Linked DNA regions of Homo sapiens: region 1 is linked to region 2. Evidence: promoter capture Hi-C in human tissues and cell types (Jung and others, 2019). All regions are on one chromosome and are shown on one strand. Each heading gives the region's core, a stretch centred on a gene start or on the middle of the fragment in contact. The rest is flanking DNA. Distances are from core to core; before and after follow the strand shown.

What was found. The method cuts DNA at HindIII sites, captures the fragments that hold promoters and counts their contacts. A contact is called where the count stands out against the background at its distance.
Region 1: a fragment that was not itself captured here is called in contact with the fragment with the promoter of RAB7A in region 2 in 1 of the 25 tissues and cell types used here (pancreas).

What each region holds. Positions count from the first base shown.
Region 1 is chr3:129,271,470-129,278,091 of GRCh38, forward strand. It overlaps COPG1 (coat protein complex I subunit gamma 1), which reads left to right. Exons shown (of 24, transcript NM_016128.4): 19 at 298-440; 20 at 775-946; 21 at 1,338-1,435; 22 at 3,369-3,507; 23 at 3,725-3,823; 24 at 5,825-6,304. The coding sequence ends at 5,955. MIR6826 (microRNA 6826) reads left to right here and starts at 677; the gene lies at 677-774. The HindIII fragment of the contact is 3,597 bases long and covers 3,015-6,611 here.
Region 2 is chr3:128,721,708-128,728,299 of GRCh38, forward strand. It overlaps RAB7A (RAB7A, member RAS oncogene family), which reads left to right and starts at 4,476. Exons shown (of 6, transcript NM_004637.6): 1 at 4,476-4,652. RefSeq lists enhancers at 4,200-4,329, 4,359-5,343 and a silencer at 4,610-4,899. The HindIII fragment of the contact is 11,719 bases long and covers 1-5,948 here.

The DNA of each region.
Region 1 (6,622 bases), core at 3,563-6,062, 550 kb after region 2:
TTCTCCAATTAGGTCTAGGATTTTGTGGTCTCATATCAGTTTTTTGCTTCTGAGGTCTTTCATGGTACAGAGATGGGGAGAGTATTTGTGGGGGGTTGTGCCACATGAGCGAAGTCAGGGAGATGAGAAAATGCATGGATATATTCAGGAAATAATGAGTAGCCAGTTGGGTAAACATATCTATCCATCTAAGGTAGGGTGGAACACCTTGAGAATGGTCATGGGAATTTATTAGAAACCATCAACAAGTTGGTCTGGGGATCGAGAAGCTGAGTGAATGTGGCCTGTGGATTTCAGAGCAGTTGGCAGCAGTGCCAGAGTTCCGCGGTCTTGGGCCCCTCTTCAAGTCCTCGCCTGAGCCCGTGGCCCTCACCGAGTCAGAGACGGAGTATGTCATCCGCTGCACCAAACACACCTTCACCAACCACATGGTTTTTCAGGTGAGCAAGGTGGGCTGAGGCCCTGCTGGGGCATGCGCCCAGGGAGTTGTCCCAGGTCTGGCAGGTCCTGTAGGGTCATGGGTCCCCACACTGCATTGGTTGGGAGCCCAACTTGATGACAGAATCTGTCCCCAACAGGTCGGTCTCTCATATCTCTTGACTCGGGACATCCATGGCTCCCGATTGTCAGCATGAAGACAGGGAACCTGGGGCAGGGGGACTGGGATGGGAATCACCTTGGTCAATAGGAAAGAGGTGGGACCTCCTGGCTTTTCCTCTGCAGCATGGCTCGGACCTAGTGCAATGTTTAAGCTCCCCTCTCTTTCCTGTTCAGTTTGACTGCACAAACACACTCAATGACCAGACCTTGGAGAATGTCACAGTGCAGATGGAGCCCACTGAGGCCTATGAGGTGCTCTGTTACGTGCCTGCCCGGAGCCTGCCCTACAACCAGCCCGGGACCTGCTACACACTGGTGGCACTGCCCAAAGAAGACCCCACAGCTGGTGAGCCCCTCTCCAGATACCACCCTATCCTCCTGGGAGCTCATGGGGTCAGGAGGAGGTGGGCGGCTGGGCACCAGCTGTTTGCCTTCTATTAGAGCTTCAGCTCCTTGATTTCAGTCCCAAGAAGAAGAATAGCTGAGTCCCAAGTGCTCTTCTTTAAAAATTTTTTTTTTTAAAGAGACAGGATCTCACTAGAACTCATGACTTTCCTGTCCTACAAGGTGGCACCCTCTGTCCAGCTTTGTGGGATTGGATGGCTTGTTGCTGCTACTAATAACATAGCAGGGGCCTAGAAAGCAGGCTGTGACCCCTGCCTGCTTGTCCCCTGCAGGAGGAGCCCATCCCCTGCAGGCTGGGGACATCCTAACTACCCAGCCTCTCTTCCCCACAGTGGCCTGCACATTCAGCTGCATGATGAAGTTCACTGTCAAGGACTGTGATCCCACCACTGGGGAGACTGATGACGAAGGCTATGAGGATGAGTATGTGGTAAGATCCTGGTGTCAGGAAGCTCAGTTTTGTGCTGAGGCTGCAAAGCAACTCCCTTCAGGAACTGACAGTGAGACTGGAGCTGTTTTTGGCTTTTTAGCTCTTTAAAATTTTATTTTTTTATTTTTATTTTTTGAGATGAAGTTTCTCTTTTGTTACCCAGGCTGGAGTGCAGTGGCGCGATCTCGGCTCACTGCAACCTCTGTCTCCCTGGTCCAAGCGATTCTCTTGCCTCAGCCTCCCAAGTAGCTGGGATTACAGGCGCCCACCACCATGCCTGCCAAATTTTTTGTATTTTTGGTAGAGATAGGGTTTCACCATGTTGGCTAGGCTGGTCGCGATCTCCTCACCTCAGGTGATCCACCTACCTTGGCCTCCCAAAGTGTTGGGATTACAGGCGTGAGCCACCGCGCCCGGCCTAAAATAACTTTTTAAACTTATGGAAATACATGTTCATGTGTAAAAAGAAAACTTGGGAAATACAAAAACAAAATTCAAAACAAAGTATGAACAACAGGAAAACATTACTCATAATCCTTAGAGTTATTTTTGGGGGGAAGTGGTATAATTGAAATCATTCTTACAGTGTAGACCTTGCTATTTTAAAACCATAGTGTATTTTCCAGTATCATTACAAATACTTCATAAACACAATTTTTTTAGTGGATTTAAAATACTGTTATATACTATGTCAAAACTTGATTGACTTTTCACTCCTTTAATGTTGGGCATTTGGGTTTCCATATTTTCACTATTTATATTGCTGCATTAAATATCCCTTTAGATACAAATTTTTATCTGCATTTTAGATTATTTCTTTAGGATAGATTCCTAGAAGGAGAATAGTTGGGTCAAAGGGTAAGCATGATTTTAAGACATTTTGATTCCTCTTGTCAAATGCTTTCTGGATAAATTTGACCTGTTTGCTGTGCTGGGCAGTCCTTTCATGCACTGGAATAGCCCTTCTAAATTCTCCTATCTTAGCTCGGTGGAACTAAGTACAGGATCCTTCTGAGGTCTGACTTTGGGGCAGTGGCTCAGGGCCATCTGAGTGCAGACCATTATGCTCAGCCTGTGGATGGGGACTGTTAGAACTCCTCCTGACTAGAGGGACAGTCACAGTGGAATACAACTGACATTCGCCATTGTGTCATCCTAGAGTCACAGTTGAGGATGGATGGACCTTCCTTGAGCTGGAAATGACCCCGAGGCAGGAGCTGCTCTAAGACCAAGTGAGCTCCTTGAGAGAGCTGGGTCTGTTTGAGCCCATCCAGAGATGAAGAAAAAAAAAAAAGAGAGAGAGAGCTGGGTCTAAGTTGTATTTATATACACTGTAAACATCCACAGGAGTAGGGCCTCAGTGAAAATCTGATGGGAGAATGAATGGGGAACCTTCATGTAGACTCAGTGGGAGTATTATGTGTCAAGTTCAGGGAAGACACAGCTGAAATGGAGATAGAGATTCAGGATCTGTCAAATCCAGAGGACACAGCTGGGGTAGGAGGTTTCTGCTAGTTTCTGCTGAACTAGAAACAGCTGCTGGTCCTGAAGAGCTCATCATCCCCTAGGAGGGACAGGCATAGGAAGCAGACCTCTGAGAATGCTATGTAATTCCCTGCATGCCAGGTCCTGGAAGCACTGACACTAGGCAGGCTTAGAAGAGATGTGATCTCACAGCAGGCGGCTCTAGGCTGAATTAGTAGATTGGTACTTGGGATTAGGGCGTTTTCTGTTGAAGGGATACCATTTGCCTTTGGGCACCTCAAGGATAGGTACCTGGTCAAGTTGCTCTATGTCCCCAGAGTCTAGCACAGTCCTCAGTGCCGAGCAAGCACCTGTGGAAAGAGTTGCAGGAAGGGATGTGTGGATGAGTTCAGAGCAGAGGCCCGTAGGTGTGTAGATGGGTGCCTGATTTCTACCTCCATCTCTCCAGCTGGAAGATCTGGAAGTTACTGTAGCTGATCACATTCAAAAGGTCATGAAACTGAACTTCGAAGCAGCCTGGGATGAGGTAGGGGATGAATTTGAGAAGGAGGAAACGTTCACCTTGTCTACCATCAAGACACTTGAAGGTAAAATCCTGGGAATGCCATCTCTGGCCTAATTACTGTTCAAGATCTTTGGCTACTATTGAAGTGCTCATCCCTTTTCTCTCCAAGGATCCAGGGCCATGTCTGGAGCACATATGTCAAATGCCACTTCATTAAAAGCCCTTCAGAACATGGGGGAGTGGTGGTGGCACAAAGGGCAGATAAGATGGCTTAACAATATTGGGATTTCTCATTACAGAGGCTGTGGGTAATATTGTGAAGTTCTTGGGAATGCACCCTTGTGAGAGGTCAGACAAAGTGCCGGATAACAAGAACACCCACACGTTGCTCCTGGCTGGTAAGTGGCATTTCTAGATGGGGAGGGCCTGGATAGCTTACAGCCTGGATGCCACTGGATCCTGGGCTAAGGACTCCACTGTAAATATGGGGAGTCAAAATTCACAGCATTTAAAATTCACAAAGTATAAAATAATCTGCAGCGAAATGTTTCCTCCCTACCTTGGCTGCCAGCCATTCAGATTCCCTTCCGAGAAGCGACCAGTGTTACTATTACAAACAATACTTGTATAACCTTGCGGTTATTTTATGGCTATAAAAGCTAATAGGAACGCATTTCCTTTTTTTAACTCAAATGTTTATGTACAAATGGTATATATATTGTCCTCCGATTTGCTTTTCACTTTACATTGCATCTTAGAGATCTTCCCCGTCAATATGTAGAGCTTCCTCATTCTTTTTCTTTTAATTGTGGTAAAATATACATAAAATTCACCATTTCGACCATTTTCAAGTGTATGGTTCAGCGGCATTAAGTACATTCACACTATTGTAAAACTATGACCACCATCCATCTCCAGAACTTTTTTCATCCCAAACTGAATCCTCATTTTTTTTATAGTTGCTTAGTATTCCATTGTGTGGATGCACCACATATTCTATGGAACAGCCACTACTGATGAACATTTAGTTTGATTTCAATCTCTTGCTATTACAGATGTTACAGTAAATAATCGTGTACACACACACACACACACACACACACAGTTTACTTTGCATGTGTACACTGAGAATATCTGTAGGATAAATTTTCCAAGGCATCACCAGTTCAAAGTGATTTGTGTTTCTCATCTTGATAAATAACTCCAAGTTGCCTTCCATAGAATTGTATACCTTTCTTCCTACACTGTGGACAACATAATATGTTACCACACTTTATGATCTTTTCCAGTCTGTGTGGACAATGATATCTTAGTGTAGTTTTTGTATTTTCAATGAAGTTAAGTATCTTCTTAAATGTTGAGGCATTTGTATTTCCTTTTCTGATCATTGTCTTCATATCCTTTGTCTTATTTTCTACAGGGTTGGCTGAGTGTACCCACACTCATTCTCCTTCCCAGATTATTTACTAGCAAACTCCAGAAATAGCATTTTATATGTAAATCCTGTATCTGTATGTTTCTCTAAGAGAGAATGACCCCTTCCCTTTTTTAAAGGACAATACAATTATCATACCTAAAACAGTTAACAAAAGGAAATGGGATGATTTTTTTTGGCTGAGTGTTTATAAACAGGGTTGAAAGGAGGCTCTGCTTCAGTACCCTGCCTACAGCTGACAGTTTGTAGCCACATTGAAACAACCTAGTCCCCTGGGTCTTGCAGACACCTGCCCTGTGGTTTTCTCGTGGTGGGGCTGTCCCCTTCATTTGTGCTCTCAGATTCAGTCAACGTGCAAGAGCCTCTGTGACATGAGATATAAGCCTTTTATGTCCATCAGTTCATTTGAACTTAGCAGAAGCCTGAAATATGGTATTATCATCCCTGCCACTTTGTAGTTGAGGATACTGAAGTCCTGAGAGACAGTGACTTTCTTTTTTTTTTTTTTTTTTGAGACGGAGTCTAGCTCTGTCACCCAGGCTGGCATGCAGTGGCACAATCTCTGCTCGCTGCAACCTCCGCCTCCCGGGTTCAAGCGATTCTCCTGCTTCAGCCTCCCGAGTAGCTGGGATTACAGGCGTCCACCACCATGCCCAGCTAATTTTCGTATTTTTAGTAGAGATGGGGTTTCACTGTGTTGGCCAGGCTGGTCTCGAATTCCTGACCTCATGATCTGCCCACCTCAGCCTCCCAAAGTGCTGGAATTACAAGCGTGAGCCACCGCGCCTGGCTGAGAGACAGTGACTTTCACAGTGAAATCCCTCACTCAGGGATTTCAGCCCAGCTCTCCTGCCCGTTTCACTACACCAGAGCTGCCTTCATGGGTTGCTGCAAATGCCATCCTTAGCCTGCCCTGTACAGTCCCTTCTGCTGTATATATCTGTACTTCTCTCTTCCCTTCTAGGTGTGTTCCGGGGTGGTCATGACATCCTGGTGCGCTCCCGGCTGCTGCTTTTGGACACAGTGACAATGCAGGTGACAGCCAGAAGTTTGGAGGAGCTGCCAGTAGACATCATCTTGGCATCTGTGGGATAAGAGGCCAGCCTGCATAGGACCTCATACCCTTCCCCAACACTACCTGGAAGTTGTGCCTTCCTCATGAAACTGGCAGAAACCCCTTCCCAAGCTTCTGTATTGAAAAACAATTAGGAATCATTGCAGATTTTTTTTTATTCTGCTCCCACCTCCCACCCGGGACTACTTGCTGGTGACTTTTTTTTTTTTTTTTTTTAAATAGGGGATGATTTTAGCTTGTCCTAAATCTTGCTGTCCACCCTTCCAGGAAAGGGACATTGTAAATGAATAAAACATTCTCAACTCCTCTTGAATCTATCCCCCAAGAAACCATCTTATCCCTGTAATAAATCAGCATGTATTTATTGAATGATTGCTACTTCTGCAGACTCATGCTTCAGGGCTCCACCTTCCCCTTCAAGGCCTCCCCTAAAGAGGCAGAACACCTGCCCTGTCCCCCTTGCACCCACAGCCCTTTGGCTGTTGTAGTCCTGTGAGGCAGGACCCTCTCCCCGTCATCGCTGTCCCAGCACCAAGCCCAGGGGTGGGAGCGGTAGAGGGTGGTTGAGTGAATCAGCTAACAGGCAGAGTTCACACTCCCTCCCGTTCGTGCTTCTTCACAACGCATCCTCCTTTGATAGTCGATAAATGGAGGCTCCAAAGGGCTTGGGTCCTGTGTCTGATCGTT
Region 2 (6,592 bases), core at 3,226-5,725:
TAACAAAAAGCCTAGCATATAGGAGATTCTCAGTAAATCGTTTGTTGAAAGAAGGATGTACTTGTCCACTTTCTCCATGGGCAATCCTGTTAACACCCGTTACTTTCATTTCCATCTACTCTTAAATTTCTATTTTCAGCTGAGGCTACCCTGAAGGACCCAGAAACCCAACTCCCATCTCTGCCTCAGCCCAAAATGTCTAACTGCCTCCTCCCCATCTCCACTTGGATGTTTCACGGAAGTCCTCTGTCTCAGCATTTCCAGAACTGAACTTCTCACTCCTAATCTCCTCCAACATACCTGCTGTGCTTTGGATATGATGTGTTCGTGCCCCCAAAATCTTATATTGAAATGTGATCCCAGGCCAGGTGCAATGGCTCACACCTGTAATCCCAGCACTTTAGGAGGCTGAGGAGAGCAGATTACTTGAACTCAGGAGTTTGAGCCCAGCCTGTCCAACACGGCGAACCCCGTCTCTACTAAAAATTCAAAAATTAGCTGGGCATGGTGGCAGGTGCCTGTAATCCCAGTCACTCGGGAGGCTGAGGCACAATAATCACTTGAACCTCATAGATGGAGGTTGCAGTGAGCCAAGATTGCTCCACTGCACTCCAGCCTGGGCAACAAAGCGAGACTCTGCCCCCTCCAAAAAAAAAAAAAGAAATGTGATCCAGGCAGGCTGAGAGTGGTGGCTCTCACGCCTGTAATCCCAGCACTTTGGGAGGCTGAGGGGGGCAGATCACTTGAGGCCAGAAGTTCAATATGGGCCTGGCCAACTTGGTGAAACTCCATCTCTACTAAAAATACAAAAATTATTTGGGCATGGTGGTGCACGCCTGTACTTCCAGCTGCTCGGGTGGCTGAGGCACGAGAATTGCTTGAACCCAGTGGGTGGAGGCTGCAATGAGCTGATAGCACCTCTGCACTCCAGCCTAGGCGACAGAGCAAAACTCTGTCTCAAAAAAAAAAAAAAAAAAAAGAAATGTGATTCCTCAGTGTGGAGATTTGGGAGGTGGGGCCTAGTTGGGGGTATTTGAGTTGTGGGGGGGTTCCCTCATGAATAGTTTGGTGCCATTCTAGGTAGTGAGTGAGTGAGTGAGTTCTGGCTCTGGTGAGGCTGGATGAGTTCTCACAGGAATTGATTAGTTCCCAAGAGAGTAGGTTGTGCTAAAGCCAAGATGTCCCTTGGATTTGGGCTGGGATTTCAGGCACGTGCCACAGCGCCCGGCTAATTTTTGTATTTTTAGTAGAGACGGGGTTTCACCATGTTGGTCAGGCTGGTAAAGACCAAAACACTTCTAATATTAAATATTAAAGTAAATGTGAACTATATATATATTTAAGACAGATTAATGAAAATGAGCAAGATAATTATTTATCCAATTATTCCATCTCAGGGTCACAGGTGGCCAGTCTATCCTGGCAGCTCAGGACAGGAACCAACCCTGCACAGGATGCCAGCCCATTGTGTACACGTGTGCGCACGTGCACACACACACACACACACACACACAGAGACTGGGACAATTCAGACAAGCCAATTCACCTAAAGGGCACATCTTTGGGATGTGGGAGGAAACCAGAGGAACCAAGGAAAACTCAGACATGGGGAAAGAGTGTAAACTACACAGACAGGGGCCCCAGCCAGGAATCAATTTTTTCTCATCAATGTTATAATTGAAATGATGTTACTGGAGGCCCTGCTCTACTTAACTCCCCCAAGAACCCTAAAAGTCTCAATCCCAATACATCACTGGCTCATAATGGATCTTGCCATGTAAATTGGGTCCAGATGTGGATGAGGTTCCTCAGATATAATTCCTTAAGAACGGCTCTGAGCACTGTTCCTCTGAAGGCCTGTGAGCTAGAGATGTTATCTGCTGTCCACGGACCCAGCATACAGAGTTGGCAAGAAGAAGATAAGCATAGTAGACACTTTTGTTCAAAAGGGGAAAAAACAGGAGCGACAGCTGCCACTGGGTCATAGTAATTCTGAAATCAGCGAGGCACGTGATGCCAGTTCCTTGATTCGAGTCCCCTCCTGCTCCTTGGGAATGATTATCTGCAGCTCCTGGCTCTATCCTCTTGGCTCATGGGTTTCTTCTAAGTTGTCCTTTCTTTCCCATAGGAAATAGTCCATGTTTGCATCTGAATAGCCTTCTCAGAAGGCTTCTTAGAAGGCTGGGGCCCACATGTCCCATTTTATTTTTGTGCTCTGCCTTTTCTGGTATAATTGTCCCTTGCTATTTGTGGTGGATTGGTTCTAGGACTCAGATGCTCAAATCCTGCAGTCAGCCCTGCCAAACCTGGGGATGAGGACTACTGCATTCCCAGTTGCTACTTTACCTTCAAACCTAGCATTTTGATTGGCTGCCTAACGGGGTGGAATTATCATAACTCTTGGCCTTTGAAACTATTTTCAGTTTTCATTCCCCTGAATACTCTGCAAATTGTACACATTGAGCACCTACTGTACCCCAACACTGTTTCAAGAATCAGGGATATCGCAGTGAATGAGACAGACAAAAATAGCTGCCTTGTGGAGCTGCCATTCTAGTGGGGAAGACAGACAATATGCAAATAAGTGAGTAGTATAAGAGGAAAAACTTTGGGAGGCTGAGTCGGGAGGATTACTTGACACCATTACTTGACACCAGGAGTTCAAGACTGCCTGGGTAACATAGTGAAAACTTCTCTTTACAAAAAAAAAAAAAAAATTAGCCAGCCATAGTGGTGCACGCCTGTGGTCTCAGCTACTCAGGAGGCTGAGACAGGAGGATCACTTGAGCCCAGAAGTTCAAGGCTGCAGTAAGCCCTGATTATGCCACTGCACTCCAGCATGGGCAACAGAGCAAGAACTTTTCTCAAAAAAAAAAAAAAGAAAAAGAAAATAAAAAAGAAAAAACAGAGGAGAAAAGCAGTAGGGAGATGTCAATTTTTGTGTTTGTATTGTGGTGACAGGGAGAGGGACTTCAGTTTTAAATAGGGAAGGCTATTTCACTGAAAAGGTTACTTTAAAGTCAAGACCAGAGGAAAGTGAGGGAGTGGCCAAGCAGATACCTGGAGGAAGAGCTTTCCAGGTAGAGAGAAGTACAACTGCAGAGGTCTGATGTAGATGTGTGCCTTCTCTTTTCTTTTTTGTTTATCTTTTGGAAGAGACAGTCTTGTTATGTTGCCCAAGCTGGTCTTGAACTCCTGGGCACATGCAAAGTGAAAGCAGAGAAAGAGTGGACTTACCCCAGAGGCGGATGGTTCTGCAGTGTGCAAGGCCATTTCAGAATACACATAGAGAAAACAGGAGAATAGGTGGTGAGGGTTTTGGGGAAAGAGCCAATTTTGGTTGAAAAAGTAGGGGAAACCCCAGACATTGTACCATCTCAGGGTTGAGACTGCTTGCCTAGCTTTTGAGATTTTTTTTTTCCCCAGACCCCTCAACTCCTGAGATCTTATCGGGAAGCTGCTGATCACCAGTTTTAGGTGTTTTTATCTATTGGGAGACTGCCTTTCTCTGGTCTGGCTGCAACCAATTATTATTTTAGAGAGACAGCTTAACCTGACAACCACGTCATGGTTGCCTCACATTGCTGGTCGGGGAGTGGCCCCTCTCCTGCCCTGCTCAGGTCTGACTACTTACTGTAACAATTGCAAGGTTTTTGGATGGAACAATTGAAAGAATGGAGCTTGCATGAACCAAAATAAGAAAAGACTATGAGAGGGCATTGTTGAAGATGGAGGCAAAAATTCTGAGTGGATCCTGATGTGTTCGGATGGGGCTGGTGCTTGGGAGGCTGCTCTGTGCTTACAAGAAGAGTTCTACCCGGTCCATCTTTATCACATCTTCTCTAATACTAAGTTCAGAGAGGCTTTAGCTCATTTTCCATTTTCTTGGGCTGTCTCCTCTGCCAGACAAAGTGCCTATTTCTCCTGTCTCTATCACCGAGCCACACAATTGCTGTAGTCATTTGCAGTCTACTAGAACGATAACACATATTGGCATCAGACAGATCTTGGTTCAAAACCTCGCTCCACCAGTTTCTGTGTTGAGCTAGACCAAGTGACATGATATACTGAGTCTCAGTTCCTTATTTGTAAAATGGTGATAATAATTTTTGGTTAAGTAATTAAAGTAAGGATAAATGATGCCTTTCGAAGAAGGACACAACTGGAATGGCCAGTTTACCCCTTGTCCCCTCTTCGGTGGCATTATTTATTCTGGAGTAAGGAGGGATGGCTGAGGGAATCTGTCTGTGGGTCCAACATGGCGCCGTCCTGCTCCTTGTATGAGCCTCAAAGATGGGGACAACCATTTGGGGGCAGACATGTTTGTAGCACGAGATCCAGGCTCAGTCCCGAGGCAGCCGGAACGTGACGCAAGGTTGAGGCGGGGCTCCTCCCCCGCACCCTGGCGTCGAGCGTCTCGTGACAGGTACTTCCGCTCGGGGCGGCGGCGGTGGCGGAAGTGGGAGCGGGCCTGGAGTCTTGGCCATAAAGCCTGAGGCGGCGGCAGCGGCGGAGTTGGCGGCTTGGAGAGCTCGGGAGAGTTCCCTGGAACCAGAACTTGGACCTTCTCGCTTCTGTCCTCCGTTTAGTCTCCTCCTCGGCGGGAGCCCTCGCGACGCGCCCGGCCCGGAGCCCCCAGCGCAGCGGCCGCGGTAAGCAGCGGGCCCAGCCCGGCCGGCGGCCTGGCCCCATCCCCCCCCTCAGCCCCTCGGTCGCCAGGGCCTCGCGTCCTCCCTGTCCTCCTGGGCAGGCTCCAGTCCCAGCCCTGGCCACGCGGGCACACCCGGCATCGCTCAGGCCCCCGGAGCAGGCCAAGACCCCACCCGGCTTGGAGAGGTCGGAGGTCGTCGGGCGTGACCTCTGGCCGGGTTGCCCGCCCCGGCCACCCGTCTCGGACGCTCTGTTTACTGTTGGCCTGGATCTCAGAGACCCGAGAGGGTTCCTTGACTTGGGCGGCCCTGCGCCGCGGCAGGACGCGCTGGCCAGTGGAGTTCCTTAGCGCGGCGAGCAGGAGGGTGTCAGAGCCCACGCCGCCCGCCGCCGTGCCCACCCGGCGGGCATGGGTCACAGGCGCTGGGGGCCGAGCCGCGTTCCCATCCGGTTCTTCAGTTGAACAGCCTGACCCTGTTAGTGGGAGTTCCCTGACGGCAACTGAGTCAAGGCAGTGAGTCAGGTCACGTGCGCTGGGCTCGCCTCGACACTTGTGTACATTGAGGCGCCTCTGGCGCTGGGAGACAGGGAGCTTTTTGTCCTAGGCATGTTACGGTAAATCCTGAGAGAAGTTTTTCAACTTAATCGAGGAAAGATGGTAGTTGGATGTAGAGTTGTGTTTCCATTCCGACCGTGTTTGGGGCCTCTTTCTGCATTCATTTTAGGCTTGATACCTAATGGGGTCATAAGGGGAATATTGAGAATATTGACAGCAAATATTTGAGCGTTTATTGTATGCTAGGCAGCGTGGCAAGACCTTTTAACAGATCATTATGTTTAGTTCTTTGAACAACCCTCTGAAGTACCACTGTTGTGCCCACTTAACACAGTGGGAAGTTGAACAGAGAGGCTAAGCCATTTGGCCAAGGTCACACAGCTAATAAGTTACGAAGCAGAGATGCAAGCCCAGGCAGTCAGACTCCAGAGCACTGTATTAAATTTCTAGGTTGTACTGCTTTCACGTACCCCTGAAGCTTGCTGGTTTATCTTTTGCTACCTGGTATCTGTACCTCAGTGCCTCCCACCACCTCCTTTCTTTCTATTGATGTCATTTGAAAGTCTTTCTGGTAGCATCAGTTCTCCCTTAAAGCCATAAGAAATGCCGTTTGCGACTTATCACACATATTGTGGTGTAGTGTCACCGAATTAGGAGCTCTTGAATACCGGCAGGGTACTTAACTGAGGTTTGAAAAATTTTGCAGGTAGGCCTGGCAAACCTGCCTAGTGAACCTTTCTTACAACCTTAGTTGATGGCTGTCCAGCCGGCTGGTTCTTCCCTATTCAAAATACTGCATCTTTGGTTTCCTAAAGAACGGACTCTTGTCTCTTTCTTGTGACTTAAGCAGCTGATGAAGCACATGATTTCTCATCCATGGATGAATAAAGTCTCCTCTTAGTGTGTTTCTCTCTTCAAACTTGGGAAGGTTTGTTCAGATTTGAGTTTAAGGACTGGAAGGTGAGTTAGGAGTACTTCTTCTGAAGAAGGGACCGGCTAAGTTAAAGCTTAGCGTTCACAATCCTGTTGTATTCATATTTGTCTTTTTTTTTTTTAACTTTGCTACCTAGCCTAAAATATTTAAGTGAGTAATAAGTACTGTGGCTTTATATAATGTTTGAGTTTAGAGTAATGATAGGCACCTTTTTATTCATTCATTAAGTATTTTGAGTATCCATTGAGTATCAGCAATGTATCAGGCATTGTGGGACATTGACTCAGGGAGATAGGCGTGGTTCCTGTCCTCAAGGAATTTTTAAAAGGTGAATGATCTTGGCCAGAAATTCTGTTGTGGAATAATTTGGCGGTAGAACTTGAGGCTTTTTGGAAAGAGTTATTTCTCATCTCTGCTGGTGAATCAGTAGTAACCCAAAGGATGGTGTTCTT